Linked DNA regions of Homo sapiens: region 2 is linked to region 1. Evidence: promoter capture Hi-C in human tissues and cell types (Jung and others, 2019). All regions are on one chromosome and are shown on one strand. Each heading gives the region's core, a stretch centred on a gene start or on the middle of the fragment in contact. The rest is flanking DNA. Distances are from core to core; before and after follow the strand shown. Region 1 holds the start of AASS (aminoadipate-semialdehyde synthase). Region 2 overlaps CADPS2 (calcium dependent secretion activator 2).

Region 1 (7,304 bases), core at 2,956-5,455:
TAAAACAGGACAAACTAGTAAGCTTTAACATTAGCTCACATATATTAAGAACATGGCTCATTTAATCTTGACAACCCTATGATGTTCTCCACTGTCCTGATGGGAGAAAGCGAGACTTAGTGACTTGCTAGTGAGAGGCAAAGAAGGGATTAAATCTAAGTCCCATTCACTCTGGTGCTCAAGTGCCAAACCACTACCTTTCAGGACCTCACAGGAAGAACCAGACGAAAATAGAGAATGACTGGGGAAGAGAGAAAACCAAAGTAGGTGGGAGAAAGAGAGGCAGCCTGAGTGGCTAGAATCAACTTCCCAATTTCAGGAGCACGGACTCAGCACCCAATGTGGATGGAAGAGGTCTCCCTTATTAAAAACATTTGAGGGATTGACTGCAGGAGCTGACCTGAGGGGTATCCAAGGTTTGTTTTTGTCTCTCATCTGTTATCCCTTTTCATTATAAAGAAATTTCTGAGATCTGTCACACTCATTACAACAAATGTCACTACACTGAAAAATGTTTGAAATTCCTCATTTCAAGAACCAGTATTTCTCATGTGTATATTTTGCAAAATTCCTAAAGTAAAGCAAGAGAGAAGCACACTGAGCCTCAGGTCCTTGTTGAAGTCATGATGGTCCAGGGCCCTTTCCCAGCTTTTCCTACTTAGGAATTAAATTTCAGCAGTTTTTCCATGAGCGTTCAATCATTTGCAGTGGGATTCACAGTGACCAGTCATACGATTCATTCATTTCAACAAGTAGTTGCTGAAAACATTTTGTGTTGAATATTCTCCTTTGAACCCTCTAGAATTTCTGTCCCTTTCTGCACCTGCTCTGCCCCCAGAATGGGAGGTGATCTTTTTGGACTTCACTAACAATCTGGCTCTATTTATGTCCAAATAGTAGAAGCCATCAGCAGGAGATGAAGGGGCAGGAGGAGAGTGAAGTAAGATTATTCCTTCCCTATGGAAGAACAGGGGTCTGCAAACTGTAGCCCAGAGGCCCTATCTGCCCTGCAGCCTACTTTTGTAAATTAAGTTTTATCAAAACACAGCCACACATATCCATTTAAATATGGCCTATAGCTGCCTTTTACATTCCAGCCAGCAGAGTTGAGTAGTCATGACATGACAGAGATGGTATGATCTGTGAAGCCTAAAATATTTATTTTCTGGCCCTTTACAGAAAAAAGTTTGTTGACCCCTGCCTTAGGTAGGTTCCTCTTCAGGTAGGATTAATCTTTTTTTGTTTGTTTTTGAGATGGAGTCTCACTCTTGTCACCCAGGCTGGAATGCAGTGGTGTCATCTCGGCTTACTGCAACCTCCTCCTCCCGGGTGCAAGCGATTCTCCTGCCTCAGCCTCCCAAGTAGCTGGGATTACGGGCCCTTGCCACCATGCCTGGCTAATTTTTGTATTTTTAGTAGAGACAGGGTTTCACCATGTTGGCCAGGCTGGTCTCAAACTCCTGACCTCAGGTGATCTGCCCACCTTGGCATTCCAAAGTGCTGGGATTACAGGCATGAGCCACTGTGCCCGGCCGGCAGGATTAATCTTTAGGCAGCTTTATTCCTGTCACAAACCACTACTGTTGGTTGAATGGCACTCTCTACAGCTACAGCTACAGCTACACTACAGGTAGAACTATTCCTGAGTTCTGGTAATTATTTCTTTCCCTGGCCCTGTTTAGGCCTACGAGTGATTGTCAGTGTTGCTAGTCCCAGGGACTACATGGCACATATACTGCCACTTTCCTTTATCCCTGCATACACTCAGTCCTTTTGTGTCTCCTAATTTACCCAGTTGGATTGTGCCACCTATTTCCTGCTAAGACCCCAACTGACTTATTACACGCATAGCATCGTACTAGAAGCAATAAATAAATAGAAAAGAAAAGAAAAGAGGAAGTCCACGTACATATTCTTATTTTATGGTGGTGATGACAGGTGAGCTGAGCAATGTGGATAAGGTAAGTATGAATAACTGTGATAAAAGGAAGAATGTGATAAGTACAATAAGAGAGGCCAATACACAAGGGAGAAGGGAAACAATCACATGTGGTTGAAATATTCAGGAAAGTTTTCATTATTTAAGTGGCATTTGAGCTGAACCCCAAAGGGCTGGTTAGTTTTAGAAAGGTGAATATTTTTGTAAATTAGAATTACAGATAAGTCTACAACATGAGGTATTTGGAGGAAAATAAATAATGATTTCCAGTTTCTTCAGTGAGACAATTAACAGGGCACTTTGGCCATTATCTCATTTTGTTCTCATGACTCCACGAAGTAGTGGCTATTATTAACCCATTAACAGATAATGGAGCACAGGCTTTTTTTGAAAACTAAGTAACTTGCCCATGATTTACAACTCAAAGGAGAAGAGTAAGGATTCTTACATTCTTACCCAGATGCTTAATCCTTAGGAAGATAGCAAGGCATAAATTGTGTTTCAGTGGTGGTTTCAGGCTGGTTCTGCTGCAGAAATAAAGCCAAGGTCATTGATTTTGGCCACATCTGAAGCAACTAACATTATGTGAAGAACGTTGGGCTAATGTTCCACAAGTACTGGGTAGTCTCTGAGGCTTTTTGCTTAGGCCAATGAGACAATTGGAGTTGTATGCTTAAAAAAATATGGTCTACGTTATATATAAAAAGGGGTTTGAAGTAGGGTGATAGTAGTGGGGTTTTTAAAGGACAGTGTCAACACCAAGGGTAAGGCTGAGGGGCCAGAGGAAGAACTGAAGTGACCGTGGCTTTTTAAGTCTGGATAGGTGGTGAGTAGGAAGGCAGTGATATTAGTAACAGAGCTGGTGAGCACAAAAGGGAAGGCTTTATTTTATTTTATTTTTTGAGACAGGGTCTTACTCTGTCACCCAGACTACAGTGCAGTGGCATGATCATGGCTCACTGCAGCCTCAACATCCTGCGGCTCAAGTGATCCTTCCACCTTAGCCTCCTAAGTAGTTGGGACCACAGGTATGTGCCACTACACCTGGCTTTTTAAAATTTTATTTATTTTTATTATTTTTATTTTTAGTAGACACAGGTCTTGCTACGTTGCCCAGGTTAGTCTTAAACTCCTGGGCTCAAGTGATTCTCCAGCCTCAGTCTCCCAAAGTGCTGAGATTACAGGTGTGAACCACTACACAGCCTTTGGAAGACTTTCCAAGAATGATAAGGGATCCGATTTTGGAAATGTGAAGCTGAAGATACAGAAGAAAATTCCAACTCTACTTACAGATAAAATTCTAATTTGGGGTTGGGCACAGTGGCTAACACCTGTAATCCCAGTGCTTTGGGAGGACGAGGTGGGAGGATAGCTTGAGGCTAGGAGTTCCAGACCAGTGTCCTGGTCAACACAGCGAGACCCCATGTCTACCACAAATAAATAAATAAATAATTTTCTCTGCAATTGGAGATATGAGTGGAGTCTCAAGAACGTTCTGGCTATAGATTGTTGACATAGGAGTTCAGTAGCTAAATACATCTATGGCAGGTATAAGAAGAGTAAGTGGTGGAGAAAGTTGTAAAAACAGGAGGGAAGATTAACTTCTGACCGTTGACGCCTTGGGGAATCACAGCTGGGCTTCAGACGATTCTTCAGTTCCTAGTGCTGGGGCTAGTGTCTATGAAATACGTTTTCCCCCTCCCTCCAGGCCTCCTAGGTAGTTAGGACTTTTCAATAACATTGGACATTGCCATATGCACATGAACACACTCAGTTTTAATTTCTCAGATTCTCCGCTTGCTGGCTTCTAAAACTGTTGTAAGAACTGTTATCTGGCTTCACAGGGTTGTGACAAGGCGGTGAAATGCTTTGAAAAGTGTCTATAGCTAAACAAACGTGAGGTACCGGCGCTCGCAACTTTTCCCCAGGAGATGTGCACCTCTATTTAGAGCGTAATGCCCAGACTATTTTCGTTGCTTTCCGTCCCCGCCCGCCTTCTGCCACGGACAGTTACAAACCTGGTCGATAATTATCCTGGGAGAACTCGACGTCCCAGCTAAGAACGCAGGTCAGAGATCAGAGATCAGAGACAGAAGGATCTTGGGGAGGAGCAGGGGCCGGGCATGACGTAGCAACTGGCAGCGCCGCCGATTGGCAGATGAGAAGGTTGTTCCCTCAGGGCGGCTGCTGATTGGCTACGGGAGGCAGAGGCGTGACGTCCTCAGAAGTTGAGCAAACACCTCCTACTTCCCGGCCTTCCATCCCAGTTTCTTCTAGGAATTCGGAGCCTCCCCTGCAGCGACTCGGAAGATTCGAGGCGGCGGGGGACAAGTCGGCGCCCCAGAGCGGACGAGGTGAGGAGAGGAGAGGTCCCCGCGGAGAGCTGAGCAGACGCGCGGGTGGGCTCAGCCTGTGAGATGCGGTGGAGATAGCGGGCCGGGCTCGGGCTGTCGCTGGGAGGGGCCCGCGAGCCTGGCCTTCGGGTCCCGGCGCCGCGAGGCGACCCCGGCCGGGCCGAGAGAGGGAGAAGGCGGCGAGCATTCGGGCCTCCCTGCGAGGAATGGAGGGAGAGCGGAAACGCAGAGAGTTTCACTGCGAGGAAGGGAGGGAGAGCGGTCAGCGCAGCTCCAGCATTTCTAAGTAGAAAGGCGAGGGATTGCAATTCGGATTTCTTTTCTTTCTTTTTTGGCGGACAGTGGTGGTGCTGTGGCTGGGGAATAAAGAACTGATGAAGCTGAGGAAACAACGGCTTGTTAATTTGTGGACGGCGTGCTTAGAGGGGACGGCTGGCTGAGGGGGCGGTGGATGGAGATTTCGGGGTGGTTCTTTCCCCCTTCCCTCCCCACGCCCAGCTTAGCCAAACTGATCACAAACTTCTCTCCTTGTCCATCTTGGGCTGCCCACTCTCCGAGACACAGACCCATTCTCCAGCAAGGATCGGAGATGGGTGGAAGTTGGGCGCCTTGCAAGTCTGGGTTTCCTGAACTCTTCAGCCCCTGCGGGACTATGCAGCCCATTGTGAGCGCTCGCGCGGGACGGGGCGCGGGGAGAAGCAGTTTACCCACCCTCCTCGGTTGAATGGGGCTGAATGTCTGTCTATCCTGACAGCTTCAGAAGAAGAAATGTGCTTTTCAGACATTGATTTCAGGGGAATGGGGGTGGGGGGAGCGGAAGAGAGAGAGAGAAAGAGCGCTCGAGCGCGAGAGAGAATGAATTAGTTCAGTAACTTGAACAAGGATTAACATTTTTTGATGTTGTGGGTTATCAGTGGGGAAGGTGCAGCTGTGAGATGTAGTTATACACAGGACGGAATGGTCCTTGACTGAAGCTGCGGCTTTCCAATACTGTATTAAAAAAAATCCCAAAACACTGATGGCACTTTGGTGTTTCTGGGTTTGTCTGTTTTGTCCCCTGCACTCCCCTCTTCTTTTTTTCCCATGAAGATGAGTGAATCTAGGGCTACATGACTTGACTGTGTAACCTGGTGGCCATTCTGCAAAATGAGTTAGGTGGACAAAAATTGAAGCCAATTTACCTGAATCATTTTCCCACTCTTCAGATAATCATATTTGTTATCAGTTTCACTTGTTATTGATGATGGCGTGATCAGAACTTTGGTTTATTTGTCATTGAATTTTTTTTCTCACTAGTCGTTTAACAGACCTTGGTTCGGAATTTTGGAAATGATCTTTGGTGTTTAAGAAGCCACCATTTAACAAAACATTTTCATTTTTTTCATATATTCTTTTATTAATTTTCTCATAGAAATAACATTACAAACAGTGGTAAGTTTTCTTGGGAAGGCTACAAAAGATTCTATGCAATTCATGAAATCATGGAAACAAACATTTGGAATGGAAAATAACCCCAAAACATTATTACCACATTCATCTGATCTAAGGTGTCATCTATTGTAAGATGCATCCCTATTTCACTGATGCTAAAATGTGTAAAAAAATTGTCTTAAATTTGATGAAATACAACATTAAAATGGTAATTTATTTATCTTGAACATGCATGCCTGAAGTTTGAAGTTGAAGAGAGGGCTTATTGGGCTCTAATTATTTTTTTTCCAAAATAATGTAAGGGTGGGGGATTAATATGGAGCCATCGTGAAGGTCTTACTACAGTGTGACAGAGGAAAGAAATGTGAGTCTACTGTTAGCGGCGTGGTTGTGCTCGCTTTTGAGGAGTAGGCAAGCCTGGAGGCTTTTTCTTTTCTTAAAATTTATTGTTTATGACACACAGCAATGCTCAGCACTTTATGCATATTAGCTCAATTAAACGTCTTAAGAGCCCTAAGAGGTAGAGGTTAATATGATTCTCATTTTGCGCATGATGCACAGACAGGTTAAGTTGCCAGCCAAGGTCACAGAGTAAGTTTGGCCGCTGAGGAACCCAGGAGAGAAACCAGTATTCCTTTGAGGTATCCATCTTCTGTTGCAAGCTCTTGGTTCCTGGTCCATGCTATTAATGCAGGTAGCTTAGGTGAATGTCCACTCTTTCTTGATTGTGTTTTTGGTATTTTGTTTCCCTGTTTGGTGTACTTTAGCTAGAAATTCATAAGTCAGAGTGCCTATTTATGTTCTACATTTCTAATGTTTTTGTAATTCTCAGTGTCCAGTTACTACTATGCTTAATAGAATCAGAATATCAGAGCCTGAAAGGGACTTTAGTATTATATTTTTGTCTGGGTAAGGAAACTGAAGTCAAGAGGAGGAACCCTACATCTAGTTATGTGTCCCAGCTCCCATGTCTAAGTTTTCCCACTATACTGTACTATATTTCACGACATTTGTTGATCTATGAGATCTTGGAAGAGAATCAAGTTTTTTTTTTTTTTTTTTTTTTTTTTTGCAGGGTTAGGGGGATGTGAGTCTCTTATTAATGTGTCTATTTTATCTGTTTGTTTGTTTGTTTGTTTTCTTGCTGCATAGGTCTTTATAATGTTTATTGAATTTGCTTTTTCATTTATTCATTCTTTCTTAAAACACTTGCTGTTTTCCCATGTGCCAGTCATTGGGAATACAGAGATGAGTAAAACACAACTCATACACATTTGCAGTTTAGCAAAGAGACAGACAAGTAAGCAGATAAGCATTTTGGACTAGACTCCGATTTAGAACTAACTTTGTATTCCATTTCAATGAAGCTAAAATTATAAGCTAGAGACCAGGAGAAATATGTGTCATGTTTATGGATGACTTTGAGTAGGTGATGGGCTGGAGAAAATATGAAAATTCTCAGACCAGATTAGTTAACACTAATAGACCTCCTCCCCCAAAGTCTACCACTTTCTTCTTAATCCAGTAAAGTATTTTATAGAGGGTTTAACATGGAAGCATTAAAAGAATGTACCCACGCA
Region 2 (6,900 bases), core at 3,748-6,247, 320 kb before region 1:
ACTAGGCAGACCTCTAAAATGCAAGAGGATGAGAAGGTTTCAGTGAAACAAACAAACCCAAAGCAAACTGTATAATCAGAATATTTTATTCATCCACACAGAAAGGTAAAATTAAATTGGGAACCTAAGGTGGAAAATTCAGCTAATGTGCCCCCAAAATATATGTGTTTGAGACTCATTATAATGGAAAGTTACTGAGGCAACAAGGAGCTACTGCTGCTGCCTGGGAGGCAGCCTGATTTGACTCTACTGGTTGCCATAGTTACTTTTATTCTGTAAAACTATTGTTTTCTTTATAACGATACTCTGTAATGTGTAATTCAAGGTATGTTTATATGTTCATGCATATATTATCTTTAATATTGCATGTGAAATCCACTTTCCCAAAGTTTAAACTGTGTACACATTCAGGTATCTCTGGTAGTCTTTTAGAATCGAAATTTGAATCAGTCTCTGATTCAGCATTGAGGTGTCATATAGCTTAAGAAAAAGAAAGGAAGAAATATAGGGTTGAGGGAAATTTGAGCCTCAATTTAGGATAGAAATAATCCAAGATAAGCTGAAAGTTATGACGTTTCCTGTGACGTTTACAGTCCAGCAGATGTCATTCAGAAATACTATGCTGCCACAGTGAAAGACCAGAAAGAGGCAAAAGATCTTCACTTGAATCCCGGCTCTGAAATTTGCAAACTGACCCATGTTCAACAAATCACTTAACCTTTCTGAAACTCAGAGTTGTCATACATAAAAGGGGCAAATACTAATGTGAAGGTACTACATCATTATAAAATACTATCAGTATTGATTACTCTTACTATTCTAATATATTTTTCTTTGCCATTTAACCCAAGAGGATGTAAATTGTGAGATGAAGAAAAAAGTAAAAAGTATGTAGTTAGGACTGTACCTCATGCTAAATAGAAATATTTCAATGTGTATGTAATTATATTCCTAATTTCTTTGTTAATGGAATATTCAGGTTTTGGCAACCTCTCCTTGTGAGAATGTGCTTCTCTTATCCATGTCTGTAGCATCTGATATTTATAGAGACTTTTGTTTAAACATACTGTCAATGTCAAGTCTGGTTTTTCTACATTGTTTGCCGTGGTCTTATTTTATGATCATTTTTACATCTGTCAAGACACATATTCAAAGAGTCGTTTTGCTCATTACCTGAACTACCTCTGTCATAAATTCAAAAGGAGAAAAGATTTCCTTTTGTTATTGACTGAAGTGAAGGACAACAGTGCTGTCTGGATTTGAAATTTTTCAGGGAGCACATCCTATTGCACAGTGTTGAGCTCTCTAGGTGTGTTCTTTCTGTACAGATACATCTCTGAATAGCACTCTGAGTGTTTCAGAAATAAAAGAATAGAGTTAAACAGAAAAGGTCTGGCTGGTACTAAGACTGAGGAAGAGAGAGAAAAAGAAAGGAAGAAAGAAAAAGTGAGTCAAGGACAGAAACAGACCCACTCATGCAGGATGATAGCCACACACATCTCTGAATAACACAACCACTCATTCAGCCATAGTGCCGCTGAGGACTGACAGGAAGGAGAAAAGAGGCTTTCAGAGACAATGCTTCATAGGGCAAAGTTCTAGGTTGATATGTGTGGTTATACGTCTTGGTTTTGTAAGTCAGGCTGAGGGTGGAGAAACTGAAGCAGCAACACAAAATGGCTTTTATGTCCCAATTTAATGTAAGGCATACAGTGTATTCACTGACTCCTCTACAGTTTTCTAGGGCTGTCTTAGAGCTGCTGCATGCCTGACAAACGCCAGCTCAGATGTGCTTGCTTTCAAGTACAGGGCACAAGAGTACAACATGACTGTAGTTTTATATATAAAATAATCTCAATTTTCTATGGATTCCAGATTATATCACAAAGTTGTTAAGTAACCTTAATGGGCATCAGTCAAATCATCATATCATAATACCTCTGTCTTCACAGGTGCTAACATTTCCCCTTGACTGTCACTTCAGAAATTATGCCTCAAACTTCCAATCTGTAATTTTAGAGACAGTGTGCATTTTTTGAGAAACAACGTAGATAATTGCATCACGTAGGATCATCAAAAGTGTTCACTTAATTCTAGTTTTAGATATGTGACTATATAGAAATTAAGTATAAATGACACACACGTTGTAAATGGAGAGACTCACTTTTGGGGCAGGTGAGCAACCAGATGAAAGGTCATAAGCAAGGTTATCCTTAGGTAATGTACCTGATCTGACAGGTTTTATGCCATGTGCTAAATGTGCAAAGGCAGAAGGGATGGGTATTGGGGAGTATATTTCAAATATTACTGGAGGAGTTTTTTTATTTTATCAAAAACTGTAGAACAACCCTAAATCTACCTTAAGCAGACTTTCCTAGCAATATTTATACTCACCCAACCTCAAGTTCAATACTGAAGCAAGATAATTGTGCCTTTCAAAACAAAACAGACAAAACCAGAGAAAAAGAAAAGGGGAAGGGAAAGACTTGGTGTGTTGGAAATATCTCTGAGTGAGGAATCAGAGCATCTGTATTCCTGTTCTGGCTCCTCTACTGATGAACTACTTAACTTTGAGCAAATGGTTTTAATCTGTCTGAGCCTCAGCTTCTCCATGTGTACCTTGTGAGTAATAACATTAATGCTACCTACTCAATATGGTTCCTAAATAGGTCAAATAAAATTCTGTAAGTACTTTTTAAACGATGAAATATTGCTTAAATAGCATGTAGTAATTTTTTTATGCAGTGTATTAGTTAAATGAGCTTTTGGGGATTGTTCTGTGAAACACTGCAGTACTCAGGTGAATTTTGTTATGACAACATACCACAAACAGGTTTCAATCAGGAGAATGAGACTGGAAGAGCACTGAGTCAGTGCCTCACCTCATCTCCTATCCGTGGTCATGGGGAAAAGCTGTGCTGAAGTTCTGGGACCTCCCCGCCTACCACCCCCATGTTGCTGGAAAACACTGTGGCCCCAGAGGGGAGTGGCAAAGACAGCGAAAAGCAGGAGCCTAGAACCCCGTCATCCAGGATAAGTATGTAGACAGACTGCAATTTGGGAAATAGTTGCTAAGGCCACCTAATTAATTTCCTCTGTCTTCCTTCCACACCTTCCATTCAAACTGTGCAACTCCTGGATCTTTGTGAGATATTAAATAAAACAGCCTGCTGAAGGTCTGAGGAAGAGACAAGGCAAAGGAAATTTTTTAGTATATATTAGACTATATCACATTAACCATGAACAGAAACAAGGGTTACACCTTGACATAGCTTTTCTTAAACTTCATACCTTTAGAGCCTTCTTCTCGTCAATAGTTAGGTATAGGACAAAGTTTTTGGGTCTTAAGTTGGATCTTCTTATCATTTTTAACACAGTAAGTTTTTCAAAAACAGTATGTAATGTTGTATGTAGAAACAATCAAAGAAAGCTCTATATGTACATAGGTGTTATTTACCACTACCATTGCCGTCCCAGTTTGATATTTGTAGATCTATGTTGACGTACAAAATTGGCTTGTTATTTTACTTTCTCATACTGGTTTTATCAGGATTGGGTATCTAGGTTACTGTAGCCACACAAAATGAACTGGGGAGCTTTCCCACTTGCTCTGTATAAGACTTGAATGGCTTTTTGTAGTTTACCAGTATCTCATCTTTTAAACCAGTGGTCCTCAACCTTTTTGGCACCAGCGACCGGTTTCATAGAAGGTAAATTTTTCATGGATGGGGTGGAACGGTAGGATGGGGATGGTTTTGGGATGAAACTGTTCCACCTCAGATCATCAGGCATTACTTAGATTCTCATAAGCAGCACATAACTTGTATGCACAGTTCACGATAGGGTTCAGGTTCCTGTGAGAACCTAATGCCGACACTGATCTGACAGGAGGTGGAAGTCAGGCAGTACTCGCTTGCCTGCCGCTCACCTCCTGCTGTATGGCCCAGTTCCAAACAGGCCATGGATTGGTACCAGTCCACAGCCCGGGTATTGGGGACCCCTGTTTTAAACCATCTGGGCTTGGGAATTTATTTGTGGAAAGATTTTTAACTGTTGTAGTTTATGTTGTAGCTACAGAAATTCTCAGGCTTTCTATTTATTCTTGAGTCAGTTTGGGCAAGTTATGATTTTCTGGGAAATGGTAGATTTCATTTAAGTTATTAAATGTATTGATATTAAGTTATTCAAGTTGTTTTCTTTGTATTTTTTGCTCGATCTACAATTCTTCCCTTCCTCAGTCTAATATTGTTCATTTTTACCTTCTCTCTCTTTTTTTCTCTTAATCCATCAAGTTTATTGGTCTTTTCAAAGGAGCAACTTTTGGCTTTGTTGAACTCTATTGTTTCTTTTTTAGATATACTTTTTATTTTACGATAATTTTAGATTACAGAAAAGTTACTAAAAGAGTGCATAGAGTTTTCGTATTTCCGTTTCCCTTAATGTTATTGTCATACATTTGTCAAAACTAAGAAATCAACGTTGGCACACTAGTATTAACTGAACACCAGTCCTTATTCAGATTTCACCAGTTTTTTAAATTAATGTCCTTTTTTCTGCTCCAAGATTCAATTCAGGGTACCAAGTTGCACTTAATTGTCATGATTGTAGCAGTTTCTTAGGGATTTTTTTGTCTGTTTTTTGTGACCTTGACAGTTTTGAGGAGTACTAGTCAAGTGTTTTATCAAATGTCTCTCAGTTTGGGTTTGTCTGACATTTTCATGATTAGCCTGAGATTATGAGTTTTTGTAAAGAGATGAAATACCCTTCTCATCACATTCTATCAGGGAGTACATAATATCCGCGTGACATCCTGGTAGTATTTGTCACATTTCTCTACTGTAAAGATGTCATTTTTATTTTTTTATACTCTAGTTTGAAGAAAATAGCTAAGTCCAATAAAACACACTGAAGAGGAGACAGGAAATAAACCCCAACTCCTAGAAGGAGAACTATCTGCATACGTTATTCAGAATTCTTCTGTAAGGAATATATGTCTCTTCTTTCCAATTTATTTATTTAACCATTTGTTTATATCCGTATAGATTCATGTGCAGTTGCTTTATACCTTGGGTTACAATCTAATAATATCTAAATTACTTTGTTGCTCAGATTGTTCCTGCTGTAGCTATTGAAAGCTCTTTTATACTGGCTCCCTTTGATATGCCCCACTCATTTGGTTTTTGAGCACTTTCTTAGTTTCTGGCAATCTGACATGCTGCAAGCTCATCTTTTATTTTCCCTACTCTAGCCTAAGAATTAATCAGTTCTCCAAGGAGCTCTGGTTTTGTTATTGTTGTTGTTTGTTTGTTTGTTTTTTAGAGAATGGTATTTAGAAACCAAGATCTAGGTGACATGTGTGTTTATTTCTGCTGGAAAAATCATAGCTTCCAGGCCCTCTCAGTTGGACAGAGCTAGGTGATATATGATGTGTACTAAACCATGAGTTCATACTGACGTCTCCAACTGGAATCTAGGACATCAACATTCATTTCAGCATGCTTTTCTTCCTTATCTTTAACTTATCTTTTCAACAGTGAGAAATCTTACTTCCACCATCCATTTACAAAATTGTTCAACCCCTGAACTTCATGCAAAGCAGTTTTGGAATTCACCAACTAGGCTATAGTACTTGTCTACAAAACCTTTCAGTTTCCAGTCAAAATACTGTTTGCCAAAGATGAATAGGAAAGCAGCTTTTTCTCCCACCCTCCTTAGTGAGGTTATGTCATCTTTCCTAACTTCTTATGTTAGATGTGTAACTCACTACTTGCCAGCTTTTCTTCTTTTCTAAGAGTTTAGGGCTGTAACTTCCCCCACTAAATTCTGTTTTTACTACATATAGAAATGTCTTATGTACTATTTAATTAAAATTGATTCTAAGTAATTTTAACTTTTCATAATTTATTGACACAAGGTTATTTATAAGTACGTTTTAAAATATCTTGGGAGGTTGAGGCAGGAGAATGGCATGAACCTGGGAGGTGGAGCTTGCAGTGAGCCGAGATCATGCCATTGCACTCCAGCCTGGGCAACAGAGCGAGACTCCACCTCAAAAAAAAAAAAATCTAAGAATATGAAGATTTTTGGTTATTTTCTTGAGAACTGATTTCTTACCTAATTCCTTTGTGTTCAGAGAATGTGATCTGTGTGATACCAATTCTTTATCACTTGTTGAGATTTCCTTTGTGGCCAAATATGTGTCAAATATTATAAATGTTTTCTGTCACTTAAAAAAAAATATATGTATTCTTTAGGCAGTGCAAACAGGATTTGTGTGGTTAAGATCTTCTAAAGTCTTACTAATTCTTGCCTGTTTGATCTGTGGGGTTATGACCAACGTGAGTGGTGATTTACCACTGTCATGGTGGTTTTTGCTCTCTATTTCTGTAAATTTTTGCTTTGTATATTTTGAAGCTGGTTTTTGAGGAGTTGCTTTTTGTTGGGACAAAATCTCATTATGTCACACAGGTTGGTCTCAAACTCCTGGGCTCAAGTGATCTTCCTCCTTGGCCTCCCAAATTGCTGGGATGACAGGTATGAGCCACTGTGCCTGGCCCAAGGCTGTTCTGTGTTCAAGCTTAAGATTGTTAGATATTCCTGGTAGATGAACATTGTTATCATCATTTGGTGATGATCATCATAACTAATAATGATTTTTGCATGATATGTAGGTGATTATTAATGTAGCTTTCTTTTGATGAGTGTTTATCTGATGCATGTTCACATCGTTAGCCTTTCTATATTCTTGTACTTTAGTGTTTTATAAATAGCAAACTAGATTTTGATTTAATTTTTCAATATGACTATTTCTGTCCTTTAATTAGTTTGGTCCATTTACATTTATCATGTAATTGATAAAAGTAAATCACATATTAATAAAAGTAAATCACATGTTAATAA

Evidence for each region. The method cuts DNA at HindIII sites, captures the fragments that hold promoters and counts their contacts. A contact is called where the count stands out against the background at its distance.
Region 2: a contact is called between a fragment that was not itself captured here and the fragment with the promoter of AASS in region 1, in 1 of the 25 tissues and cell types used here (mesendoderm cells).

What each region holds. Positions count from the first base shown.
Region 1 is chr7:122,141,150-122,148,453 of GRCh38, reverse strand. AASS (aminoadipate-semialdehyde synthase) reads left to right here and starts at 4,205. Exons shown (of 24, transcript NM_005763.4): 1 at 4,205-4,293. LOC102724527 (a long non-coding RNA gene) reads right to left here and starts at 4,040. Exons shown (of 6, transcript XR_007060500.1): 1 at 3,958-4,040. RefSeq lists enhancers at 3,825-3,874, 4,876-5,381 and a silencer at 4,375-4,574. The HindIII fragment of the contact is 13,093 bases long and covers 1-7,304 here.
Region 2 is chr7:122,462,489-122,469,388 of GRCh38, reverse strand. The region is part of intron 14 of CADPS2 (calcium dependent secretion activator 2); the gene reads left to right. Among named protein-coding and RNA genes, the nearest start is that of FEZF1, 160 kb to the right of the region's middle. The HindIII fragment of the contact is 4,156 bases long and covers 2,920-6,900 here.